2 separate regions of the Homo sapiens genome follow, and region 1 is linked to region 2. Evidence: promoter capture Hi-C in 16 types of primary human blood cells and fetal thymus (Javierre and others, 2016). All regions are on one chromosome and are shown on one strand. The core of a region is centred on a gene start or on the middle of the fragment in contact, and the rest is flanking DNA. Distances in the headings are between cores, read along the strand shown. Region 1 has its middle 24 kb from the start of OR4D1. Region 2 holds the start of OR4D2 (olfactory receptor family 4 subfamily D member 2).

Region 1 (5,812 bases), core at 2,484-4,983, 43 kb after region 2:
AAAATTACAACAATTAGCCAGGTGTGGTGGCAAACACCTGTAATCCCAGCTACTCGGGAGGCTGAGGCAGGAGAATCTCTTGAACCCAGGAGGCGGAGGTTGCGGTGAACTGAGATCACGCCACTGCACTCCCGCCTGGGTGACAGAGTGATACTCCGTCTCAAACAAATAAATAAGTAAGTAAAAATTAAACTAAATAAATAAAAGTTTGGCCGGGCACGGTGGCTCACACCTATAATCCCAGCACTTTGGGAGGCCAAGGCGGGCAGATCACTTGAGGCCAGGAGTTCAAGACCAGTTCATAATGACAAGACTCTACTACAAGTACAAAAATTAGCTGAATGTGATGGCACACACCTGTACCTGTAATTCCAGCTACATGGGAGGCTGAGGCAGTAGAATTGCTTGAACTCGGGGGGCGGAAATGCAGTGAGCCGAGATCGCGCCACTGCACTCCAGCCTGGGTGACACAGTGAGACTATGTCTCAAAAAACAAACAAACAAACAAACACCCCCCCCACACATACTTAAAAATATTAAAATACTGACAATACCAAGTGCTTACTAGGATGAGAAGCAACTAGAACTCTGACATTGCTGGTGGGATTACAAAATGATATTGCCACTCTGGAAAACAGTTTGGCAGTCTTATAAAGTTAAATACACTTTATAATATGACAACAATTCTTAGGTATTTACCCTAGAAAACTTAAAAGCTTATATTCGCACCAAAACCTGTAAATAAATAGTTGTAATGGCTCCATTTATAATTTCCAAAACAACAATAAACAACTGGAAACAACCCCATGTCCTTCAGTGGTAAATAGATAAACCTAACATTCCTCAGTGAGAAAAAGCAATGAACTGTTGATACATGCAACCACTTAGATGAATCTCAAAGGCATTATTGAATGAAAGAAGTTAGTCCTAAAATGTTACATGCTGTATGATTCCATTGATATGACATTCTCAAAAAGACAAGCCTATAGTGATAGAGAACAGATGTGTGGTTGCCAAGACTTAGGGATGGGAAGGACAGTGTGATTACAAAGGGGTAGCATGAGGGAGTTTTCGGAGGTAATGAAACTCTTCTGTATCTTGTGGTGCTTACCTAAATCAACGTGTGTTAAAATTCATAAAACTGTGACCAGTCACGGTAGCTTACATCTGTAATCCTAGCACTTTGGGAGGCCAAGGCAGGAGGATTGCTGGAGTCCAGGAGTTTGAGACCAGCCTGGACAACATACTGAGACCCTGTCTCTACCAAAATTTAAAAAACTGTTTTCATTAGCCAGGTGTGGTGGCAGCCTCCCAGTGACTTGGGAGGCTGAGGTGGGATGATCGCTTGAGCCTGGGAGGTCAAGGCTGCAGTGAGCTGTGATCATTCTACTGCACTCCAGTGACAGAGCAAGACCTCATCTCAAAAAAAAAAAATTATAAAATTGTCTACAAAGTCAACTTTACTGAATGTTAATTCAAAATTAAAATGAAAACATAAAGCTGTAAAGGCAAAGATATTTTCAGATATGCCAGGTTTTAAAAATTTACCTCCCACACACCCTTTCTCCAAAAGCTACTGAAAGATGTGCTTTTGTGACGGCATGATGAAGAGAATAAAGAAGGAAAACACGGGATCCAGACGTGAGAATCAACACAAAAGGAAAATGATGGAAACTTCTTAGGCAGTGGTGAAGAGAAGTGCCAGGAAGATAACTGCTTCCAGGAAGACAATGTGTTTAAGAAGTAACCTGTCCAGTTTGTGGTAGGATGATGTACTGCTCCCAGAGGACTGATATCAAGAGAAAAGCAGAATTGATAGATCATTTGGGGTGTCTGAACAAAAATTCAAAGAAGATTTTCAGTTCTGGTGGAAAATTTCAGAATGAACTAGTGTATAGAAAACAACACAAACAAAAAAAGAGGCAATTATTAACTTCAGGAAGTAAAAAAGTTGGAATGTAATTATAGTACAGTTTATGACTCAACTATCAATATTAATTGCATTACCTTGATAATATAAACGCCGAACCAATGGCATACCAAAGATGGATGGTGAGAGCGGTCTGCCTCAAGCGCTGGCAATAAGAAGTGCATTACTGAGGGTAACTTTAAAACTATCACAAAACTAGAAGTCAGTGTGGTTTTCATTGTCACTGTGCACTAGCAATTCTAAATAGTGTCAATTATAAAATTCTTCTTTCCCCCCACTGAAAATTTTTTGTTTGTCTAATTTATAATTTATAAATAATTTCTGAAATTACTGTTGAGCTTTAACATTATATTTGCAAGCTTCAAATGAACACATTCTTATTATTTATCCTTTAATAAACATTTTATGTTTTACATGAAAGCTAATTGAGCAACTCCCAGTTGTACATTCCATCTTCAACACACACAGATTCAGCTACAGGCAATTGTTTGAGAGTAAACTTATAATAGTTCAGAATCATTGTTCAGGTTCATTTCTAGTGCAGTTTATGTCTCTACCCCTGTGGTACCACACATTCCTGCTTTTAAACAGTAGATTAAAAATAATTCAAGCACAGTATTGTAACGACAAAGAAACAGAACTTGAGTTACTTCATCTTGTCATTCTGTGCAAATCACTTGGAGTTTAAAAATAATGAAACAGTGCAAACAAAAAGGTACAATATAATATTTTTGGTTGGTAAATGCCAGTTTTTGTTCATATATGATATGCTTTACTTAATTTAAATAATTTTAAAAAAATTTTTTTGAGACGGAGTTTCGCTCTTGTTGCCCAGGCTGGAGTGCAATGGTGCCATCTCAGCTCACTGCAACCTCCGCCTCCCGGGTTCAAGCAACTCTCCTGCTTCGGCCTCCTGAGTAGCTGGAACCCGCTACCACAGGCACCCGCTACCACACCCAGCTGATTTTTGTATTTTTAGTAGAGATAGGATTTCGCCATGTTGGTCAGGCTGGTCTCGAATCCCTGACCTCAGGTGATCCACCTGCCTCGGCCTCCTAAAGTGCTGGAGGGGTGAGCCACTGTGCCTGGCCTAAAATTTATTCTTTTTTTTTAATTATTAGGTTTTTTTGTTTGTTTTTTTTTGTTTGGTTTGAGACGGAGTCTCGCTCTGGGAGTGCAGTGGTGGGATCTCGGCTCACTGCAACCTCCGCCTCCCGGGTTCACGCCATTCTCCTGCCTCAGCCTCCCGAGTAGCTGGGACTACAGGCGCCCGCCACCATGCCCAGCTAATTTTTTTATATTTTTAGTAGAGACGGGGTTTTACCACGTTAGCCAGGGTGATCTCTATCTCCTGACCTCATGATCCACCGGCCTCGGCCTCCCAAAGTGCTGAGATTACAAGCGTGAGCCACCGCGCCCGGCCATTAATTATTAGTTTTTAAAACTAAAGAATGAATCCAGAAAAATGTAATGTATAATTAGTGTTATTATTAGTACTTTCCTAAATGGTACCCTTTGGAGACATTTGTTTTATTTTTAAAGATCACTTAATAGTTATTGAACAATTACTAACCTAAAATATTAATATATCAGATTGTAACTAAAGACAAAAATTCTGTTACATAGATATAAGAATTCTTTGATAAATAGTTGTGCTTTTTGTCCTGCAGGAGCTTGGAAGAACTTGCGGTCATTTGTAATATTGTTGTGAAACCAGCAACTGATTCAGTTTGTAATTACTCTGAATTTTATAAAGAAACTTGAAGTGAGGTACCCATACTAACATGAAACAATATTAATCCAGTGGACTTCAGTAAGGAAAAAATGTAAAAAAGCAATGTATGGCTCTATCTTGAAATGTATAATACCTTCAACATTACATAAAGTTACTGAAAAAGCTAAAAAATTACAAGCTGGTGCATCCAAGGCACCTACACTAAAAAAGACGCAATATTAGGATGATTGCTTTTCCTTTTTTAGTACTGCAATATTCATTTTTTATTTTTTACTGTTATTAGTTATATGAAGTTCAATAAAAAAGGTTCACTGTTTCTTTTCCTTACTATTACATATTTGTTTTATTTCATGATTATTATATTTTTATCACCTCCTAGGTGATAAAAAATGATCCAGTACAGCTGTCACATATGTTGGCAGGCCTCTGCACTGGATCTTGATTTAATGAAAAGTGGTGATAATTATATGTGGAGGATGAGAGGATGCTGAGTGTATGTATATGTGTGTTAGGAGAGGTCTAGTAAATCATCGAAAAGCTCAGCTGCCATAGCAAGAAGTCACTGTTTGGGGGCTGTGAACATGACAACAAAGGAGATCGTTGTAAAAGGTAGGGATTACTCCCTCAGAGCTGTGAGGTTTGGATAAGTGAAAATAGGGAGCAGAGAAATGCAATTTTTCATTTAGGGCCAAGTGGTAAAACTTGACTTTTTAAACTATGTGCATGTCTTACTTTGAAAAGATGTCATTACAAAGCCAAAAGGACTTAAAAATGAAGAAGAGCCGGATGCGGTGGCTCACGCCTGTAATCCCAGCACTTTGGGAGGCCGAGGTGGGTGAATCACCTGAGGCCAGGAGTTCGAGACCAGCCTGACCAACATGGAGAAACCCCATCTCTACTAAAAAAAAAACACAAAATTAGCCAGGCTTGGTGGTGCATGTCTGTAATCCCAGCTACTTGGGAGGCTGAGGCAGGAGAATCGCTTGAACCTGGGAGATGGAGGTTGCAGTGAGCTGAGATTGCGCCATTGCACTCCAGCGTGGACAACAAGAGCGAAACTCTTGTCTCAAAAAAAAAAAAAAAATGAAGACAGTGCAAAAAGATTGGGAAGTCAGCTTTACACACTAATTATAAATGCTAGGAATTACAATTACAAAACAGAATATAAATAATATAAATCCCAACAAGAGAAAAATCAACATAAGCAACAAAATTGGGAGATTGGCAAAGGGAGGAGGGAGGAAGTGTAACTGTGCTAACCATCTCACCTTTTATAGCGGGGGATCAATCAATACTGTCTGAAATCGAAATGTGTGAGGTTTGAAAAATCAATGACTCCAACCTCTTTATGATTTTATGGTTTTTATAACCACTTGTCCTTACCCTTATAAGAATCCTTTTAGTAATTAATATCTCCTGGGGTGGAAACATTATTTAAATTATAGCCATTCCTTCAGATCTACTTCAATTTATTTTTCTTCTGTTGAATTTCATTAAAATTTCAGAAGCTTAATTTGCATTTTTGATAAAATGTAGTGATTAATTTTTACAAAATCATTTTTGTCTAACCTTATGTAAAACTTTCTCTTTCTATCCATTTATTCTTCTTGTTGTTTATAAGCACAGAAAGATATTTGAAATAATGTTTACCAGTTACTGTCTTCACCCATTCTAAAATACTGATTTTTTTTTTTTCACATATAAACAACTCTGAAATCTAGTGACCACACAATGGCTGACAGCCAGGTGGCAGCCATGAAGTAGTTGTCATTGCTGACATCTTCTGGTAAGATCAAGCAAGTTCCAGCATCAAAACTCCAAGCAGTGCCTTGGAAATAAAGTCCAGAGACAATAGCTGAGCACTCGTTTTTGTTTTTTTGTTTTTTTTTGAAACGGAGTTTCGCTCTTGTTGCCCAGGCTGGAGTGCAGTGGTGTGATCTCGGCTCACTGCAACCTCTGCCTCCCGGGTTCAAGTGATTCTCCTGCCTCAGCCTCCCGAGTAGCTGGGATTACAGGCGCCCACCACCACACCTGGGTAATTTGTTGTATTTTTAGTAGAGACAGGGTTTCACAGTGTTAGCCAGGATGGTATTGATCTCCTGACCTCATGATCCGCCCGCCTTGGCCTCCCAAGGCCTAGGATTGCA
Region 2 (5,586 bases), core at 2,237-4,736:
ACAAGCTTGTCCATAGGGAATGGAGTGAAGGGCCGGGCATAGAGGTAAATGCTTGGAACGAAGATCATGGAAACCACGATGATGTGGGTGGTGCAGGTGGAAGCTGCCTTCCTTCTTGCCTCCCCTGGATGTGACCTCAGCATCACCAGGATGAATAAGTAGGACATCAGGAGGAGGAAGAACCAGACGACATCCAGCAGCCCACTGTTGGAGATCTTGAGGAACTCCAGCAGTGAGGTGTCAGTGCAGGCAAGTCTCAGTACTTGGGGAACATCACAGTAGAAGTTATCCAAAATGTTGGGGCCACAGAAGGGCAGTGGGAGCATCAGAGCCAGCTGGACAATAGAGTGGACAAAGCCTCCCACCCAGGTGGCTACCACCAGCCCCACCCAGAGCTGAGTGTTCATGACGGTGACATAGCGGAGGGGCCGGGAGATGGCAATGAGGCGGTCAAAGGCCATCACTGAGAGGAAGAAGACCATGGCACCTCCCAAAAAGTGGAAGAAGAAGATCTGACCCATGCAGCCCTGGTAAGAGATGGTTTTCTTCTCAGAGAGGAGGTCCACTAGCATTTTGGGAGCAGTGACTGAAGAGAAACAGAGGTCTAGGACAGCCAGGTTTCGGAGCAGAAAGTACATGGGTGTGTGGAGCTGGGAATCAGAGGTCACTGTGATGATGATAAGGATGTTTCCCATAACAGTGGTGATGTAGACAAACAGGAACATTAGAAACAGGAAACGCTGGAGCTCCCGAGTCTGCGAGAGCCCCAGGAAGACAAAGTCTGATACCCACGTGAGGTTCCCTGTTTCCATGGTGTTTTCTCCATACACCTGAAGAAAATGAACCACAGACACAGATACATGAAGTCACTACTTTCCCTTTCAGGGCTCAGGGGCTCAGAACCAAGGTTTTAGGCCCATATGATGAGCATCCTTATGTGTAGACCATTATACTAGGTGCTGTCTTGTCTCTGGATCGTTTACAAGTGGGTGCTGGAATATACATTCCTGAAATCTTAACGCCATCCAGAAGTATATACAACCTGCCTTTCAAAGATTCATATAGTGGTGGGAAGACACTTGGAGTCAGATACATCTGAAGTCAAATTTCAGGTCTTTCATTTCATTGTGATTTGACCATGAGTAACTTACTTAATCTTTCTGGGCCTCAGTTTTCACGGGAATTTGTAAGGTAGAAATAAAAATACCTGCTTTGTAGAATTTTCTGAGGACTTAAGTAGAATGATAGATATAAAGTTCCTAAAACAGTGTATGGAATAATCAATGGCAATTACTCACCTGTGTGAATTCTCTTAATCTAAAGATATCCTCTCTTCCACTCTGTAATAAGATTCTTTGCCAATTATTTTTCACATGACATTTAATACATCATCGTGTTAATGGATTTTCCTTGTCTATATTTTCCCTCCACAATTCAACTATTAAGTCCAAAGCCTATATCTGGATCTCACAATTTATTTGTGCCCTGCAGTACCCATTCTTAATGACAGTTAACTTAAAAAGCTCTTGGTGTTGACTGCTGCATGGGTGAATAGCTATCAGGTGCACAAGTTCAGCACAAGGAAGACACTGGATGCAGCTGGATGCCTGAGACATCCAGTAGTTCCCCTGCCCTCCACTGTGGGCGGCCCCTTATGAGTGAGGCATATGTGGTGGTGCTGAGACAAGAGGGAGAAAAGGGAGGGAGAGTCATTGGATTGAGAAATAGATGATGAATATTGTATGAAGGGGACTCAGAGAGCTTCTGAATGAAACAGGAATTTTACAAGATGTTACTGAATCCAAGGGTGGGAGACAAAGGAAGTTGTTGAAAGAAAACAAATAGAAATAGACAAAGGAATAAAGGGAGATGAAGGAATAGAGCAAGTGAAGGTAAAGGAAGTGGAAAAGTGCTGGGGAGGTGGAGAAAACGGGACTAAAGGGACAGAAGAAGATGGAGGAGCCGGGAGAGGTGGCTCACGCCTGTAGTCCCAGAAATTTGGGAGGCGGAGGCGGATGGATCACTTGAAGTCAGAAGTTTGAGACCAGCCTGGCCAACATGGTGAAACTCCGGATCTGTACTAAAAATACAAAAAAATTAGCCGGGCGTGGTGGCACACACCTGTAATCTCAGCTACTTGGGAGGCTGAGGCAGGAGAATCGCTTGAAGCTGGTTGGAGGCTGCAGTGAGTGGAGGTCATGCCACTGCACTCCAGCCTGGGTGACAGAGCGAGACTCTGTCTCAAAAAATCAAAAACAAAAAAAAAAGAAGAAGAAGATGGAGGGTGACAGGGGAGGGGGTCAGTGGTCTCCCCCCTCCCCCTGCCCTGTCTCAATCTCTCTTACCCTCTCTTACCTGGCCTATTGCAATCTATTATCTACAATATTATAGGTCATTCTAATCTTATTCTGCTCCTTCAGTTTACTTCCACTCCAGGACACCTTCTTTTTTTTTTTTTTTTTTTTTTTGTGACGGAGTCTCGCTGTCGCCCAGGCTGGAGTGGCGCGATCTCGGCTCACTCACTGCAAGCTCCGCCTCCCGGGTTCACGCCATTCTTTTACCTCAGCCTCCCGCGTAGCTGGAACTACAGGCGCCCACCACCTCGCCCGGCTAATTTTTTTTGTAACACGGTTTCACTGTGTTAGCAGGATGGTCTCGATCTCCTGACCTCGTGATCCGCCCGCTTCCGCCTCCCAAAGTGCTGGGATTACAGGCATGAGCCACCGCGCCTGGCCTCACTCCAGGACACCTTCTACACAGCTGTCCATGAGACCCCTCTGACTCAGATGTGATCATATTCCTCATTGTTATAATATTTGATTTGCTCACAGCTTAAAACTCAAACTCTCAGAAGCCACCTAAAATGCTCTGTGGATAAACTGAGGGTGGAAAAACATACCTACATACGTGCATGCAACTCTCTCTCAGCATTTCATACAAGACTATAAAAAATAGCCTCCCTATACCTTTCTAATCAGTATCACTGTCACCTGGGAACTGATTGCTGTTCAAAGAACTCATAGCTTCCATGTAGGCAGTATATTTCATTATTTTCATATCTTTGGTAATAAATCCTGTTTCCTGAAATGCCTTTTGCTACCTTCTCAACCTAGAGGCGATAAGAGAAATATCACTTTCCCTTTGACTCCTCCCCCCATTTCTCTCATGCAGAATTAATTCCTTATTTCTCTGTGTTCCAATAGCATTTGATAAATACCTCCATTATAGCATTTATCATTTTTTCTATTGCTTCTCTTAACTAGATTGTAAATTCAATAACTTAGTAAGCCCAGAGTCTATGACAGCATCTCTGATTTAGCACTTGCTCAGAAATGTTTGCCAACTTAATATATTAGCAGGTAAATGTGACTTTGTTTTATGTGACAATGTCGAGAATCTTGTGATTTTCCTCACCGTTGATGTCCTTTGCTGTGAGCATCCTCCCTCTAAGTCTCATAGGGCGAATTCTGTGCTTTGTTGTTTTCCTATGTAATCGGAGGCATCCGTTTTCAACATCACATTCCCCTTGCAGTTTTTCTTGAGTCTCTGCTCATCCTTTAGACTTACTATCGTCAGGTCTATGTCACTTGCTTATTACTCCCACCCTCTAGCAGGTGTTGCAAGATCTTTCTTACAGCTGATCTCTGTGCAGCTGAGGAAACACTGGTCTCTCACCTCCCTTTAGCCCAGAATGGGGCTTCAGTGTACATCTTCTTGGAGATCCTTTGCTTCAGCCTCACAGTTTCTTAGCTCCTGCCCTTACTTCATGAATAATACCATGGGTGAGACCCCAGGGGAAGGGGGAATATCCTTTGGGAGAAACTATTGGACAGGGCTCAGGAAGCTGAGCTGGGCTGATTATCACTGGGGCCAAGGGAGCAATGGGAGTTGTTAAAAAGTTTCTAAATGTCTCAAAAGCACACACTCTTTGAGAGGTCTTCCTTGGGGGGCCCAAAGTACCAAGCACATTGAAAATTTTAGAGATTTGAGGAATGGGTAATATTCAGGCCAAGATCCAAAAGGACAAGAGGGTCTTCAAAAAAAAGGAGACTCTGAGAGTTTTAGGAGAATTTCTTTCTTAGACCAGTGACACCTACCCTTGAGAGAATTACCTGAAGGCCTTGTTAAAAGGCAGACTTCTGTTCCCAGCCCAGAATTTCTCATTCAGTACATCAATGGTAAGACCAAGAATTTGCATTTGTAGCAAGTTCTCAGATAATGCTGATGCACCTGTTCCAGGGACCAGACATTGAGAACCAACGACTTGCTCTTCAGCACAATGGATAGTTCTCTTTCATGGTGTTGTCAAGGTAACTGGTTTGATTTCTTCTCCTTTTAAACTGAATTGATCTTTACATAGGCAACGTCATGGATGGGAAAATGTCTGCATACTAAAATGAAAACTTAATTACCCCATAAATCTTGTTCTTCATCTTGTCAACCAATACCCCCACAGTTGATTCACTACCCATATCAATTATACTCACACCATCTACAAAGTGCTAGCATTATTTACATGTCAATTATTACTCCCTTTAATACAAGGATTGGCACAAGAAGCCCATATATTTTCTAATTATGAGGAACTGATTAAAAATTGGAATTAACCAACACTGTAAGCTTGATGTGCTGTAAAATCTGTGTGATTTCTCACAGCTCTCTGATCCACGTGAGGTTCTCAGGTTGGTCTGAGTTCTTTCATTGCGAATGTTTATACTTGGCAAAATAAAGACTCTGCCTCTGGGGATAAGAACACGAAGTGACGTTCTTTCACATACAAGAGATGTCAATTTAAAAAAAACACAAATTCTTCCCATTATTTGGAGCTTTAGTCTACTTTAAAATTGAGCCACTCAGGAAAGTAGTCTAGATTGATGGTGGGGATGGGCACAGGCCTTGTTAATGTTATTGACTCTCAGATGGGTGATTTTGAATTACCTGGATTAATTCTTTATGATTCCGATTTAGCTTTCAGTAATAGAGACCTGGTAGGTTCCAGTTTATATATTTCCCCTGTCAAAAGTACAGGTAGGTCGTAAAATGTCCATCAAAGCTCATCTTTACTGCAACCACTAGCCAGTATAATGGTTGCCAGTGTATGAATGGCCTGGATGGAGTAATTATGCTAAAGACTCAGTCATGGAAAATTGAGCTGAGAAAATTATTTCTATATGTATCACATTTCTAAGAAAATAAATGTTTGTCAGACTTAGCTACTATTATAATGTCAAGCCACTAAACGGATACAGGACACGTGTAGAGGAAATATCATGTAAATTCTCATGCAGGAAGCCCAGCATCATTGATAATTAATCATTCTCCCTTTGTGATGGTCTGTGTTATGTGTCAACTTGACTAGGCTATAGTTTCCAGTTATTCAATCAAACTCTAATCTAGGTGTTGCTGTGAAGGTATTTTGTAGATAAAATTGATGTCTATAATCAGTTGACTTTAAGTAAAGGAGGTTATCCTAGATCATCTGGGTGTGCCTGATTCAATCAGTTGAAAGAACTAAAGAGAAGAACTGAGGTTTCCCTGAAGGAGGAAAATTCTGCATGTAGACAGCAACTTCAGCTGATGGCCTGC

Evidence for each region. The method cuts DNA at HindIII sites, captures the fragments that hold promoters and counts their contacts. A CHiCAGO score of 5 or more calls a contact.
Region 1: a fragment that was not itself captured here is called in contact with the fragment with the promoter of OR4D2 in region 2 in 3 of 17 cell types (total CD8 T cells, non-activated CD4 T cells and naive CD4 T cells); the score reaches 5.6 in total CD8 T cells.

What each region holds. Positions count from the first base shown.
Region 1 is chr17:58,121,744-58,127,555 of GRCh38, reverse strand. No RefSeq gene overlaps it. Among named protein-coding and RNA genes, the nearest start is that of OR4D1, 24 kb to the left of the region's middle. The HindIII fragment of the contact is 2,884 bases long and covers 2,292-5,175 here.
Region 2 is chr17:58,164,882-58,170,467 of GRCh38, reverse strand. OR4D2 (olfactory receptor family 4 subfamily D member 2) reads right to left here and starts at 3,486. Exons shown (of 2, transcript NM_001004707.4): 1 at 3,415-3,486; 2 at 1-830. The coding sequence starts at 812. The HindIII fragment of the contact is 4,615 bases long and covers 8-4,622 here.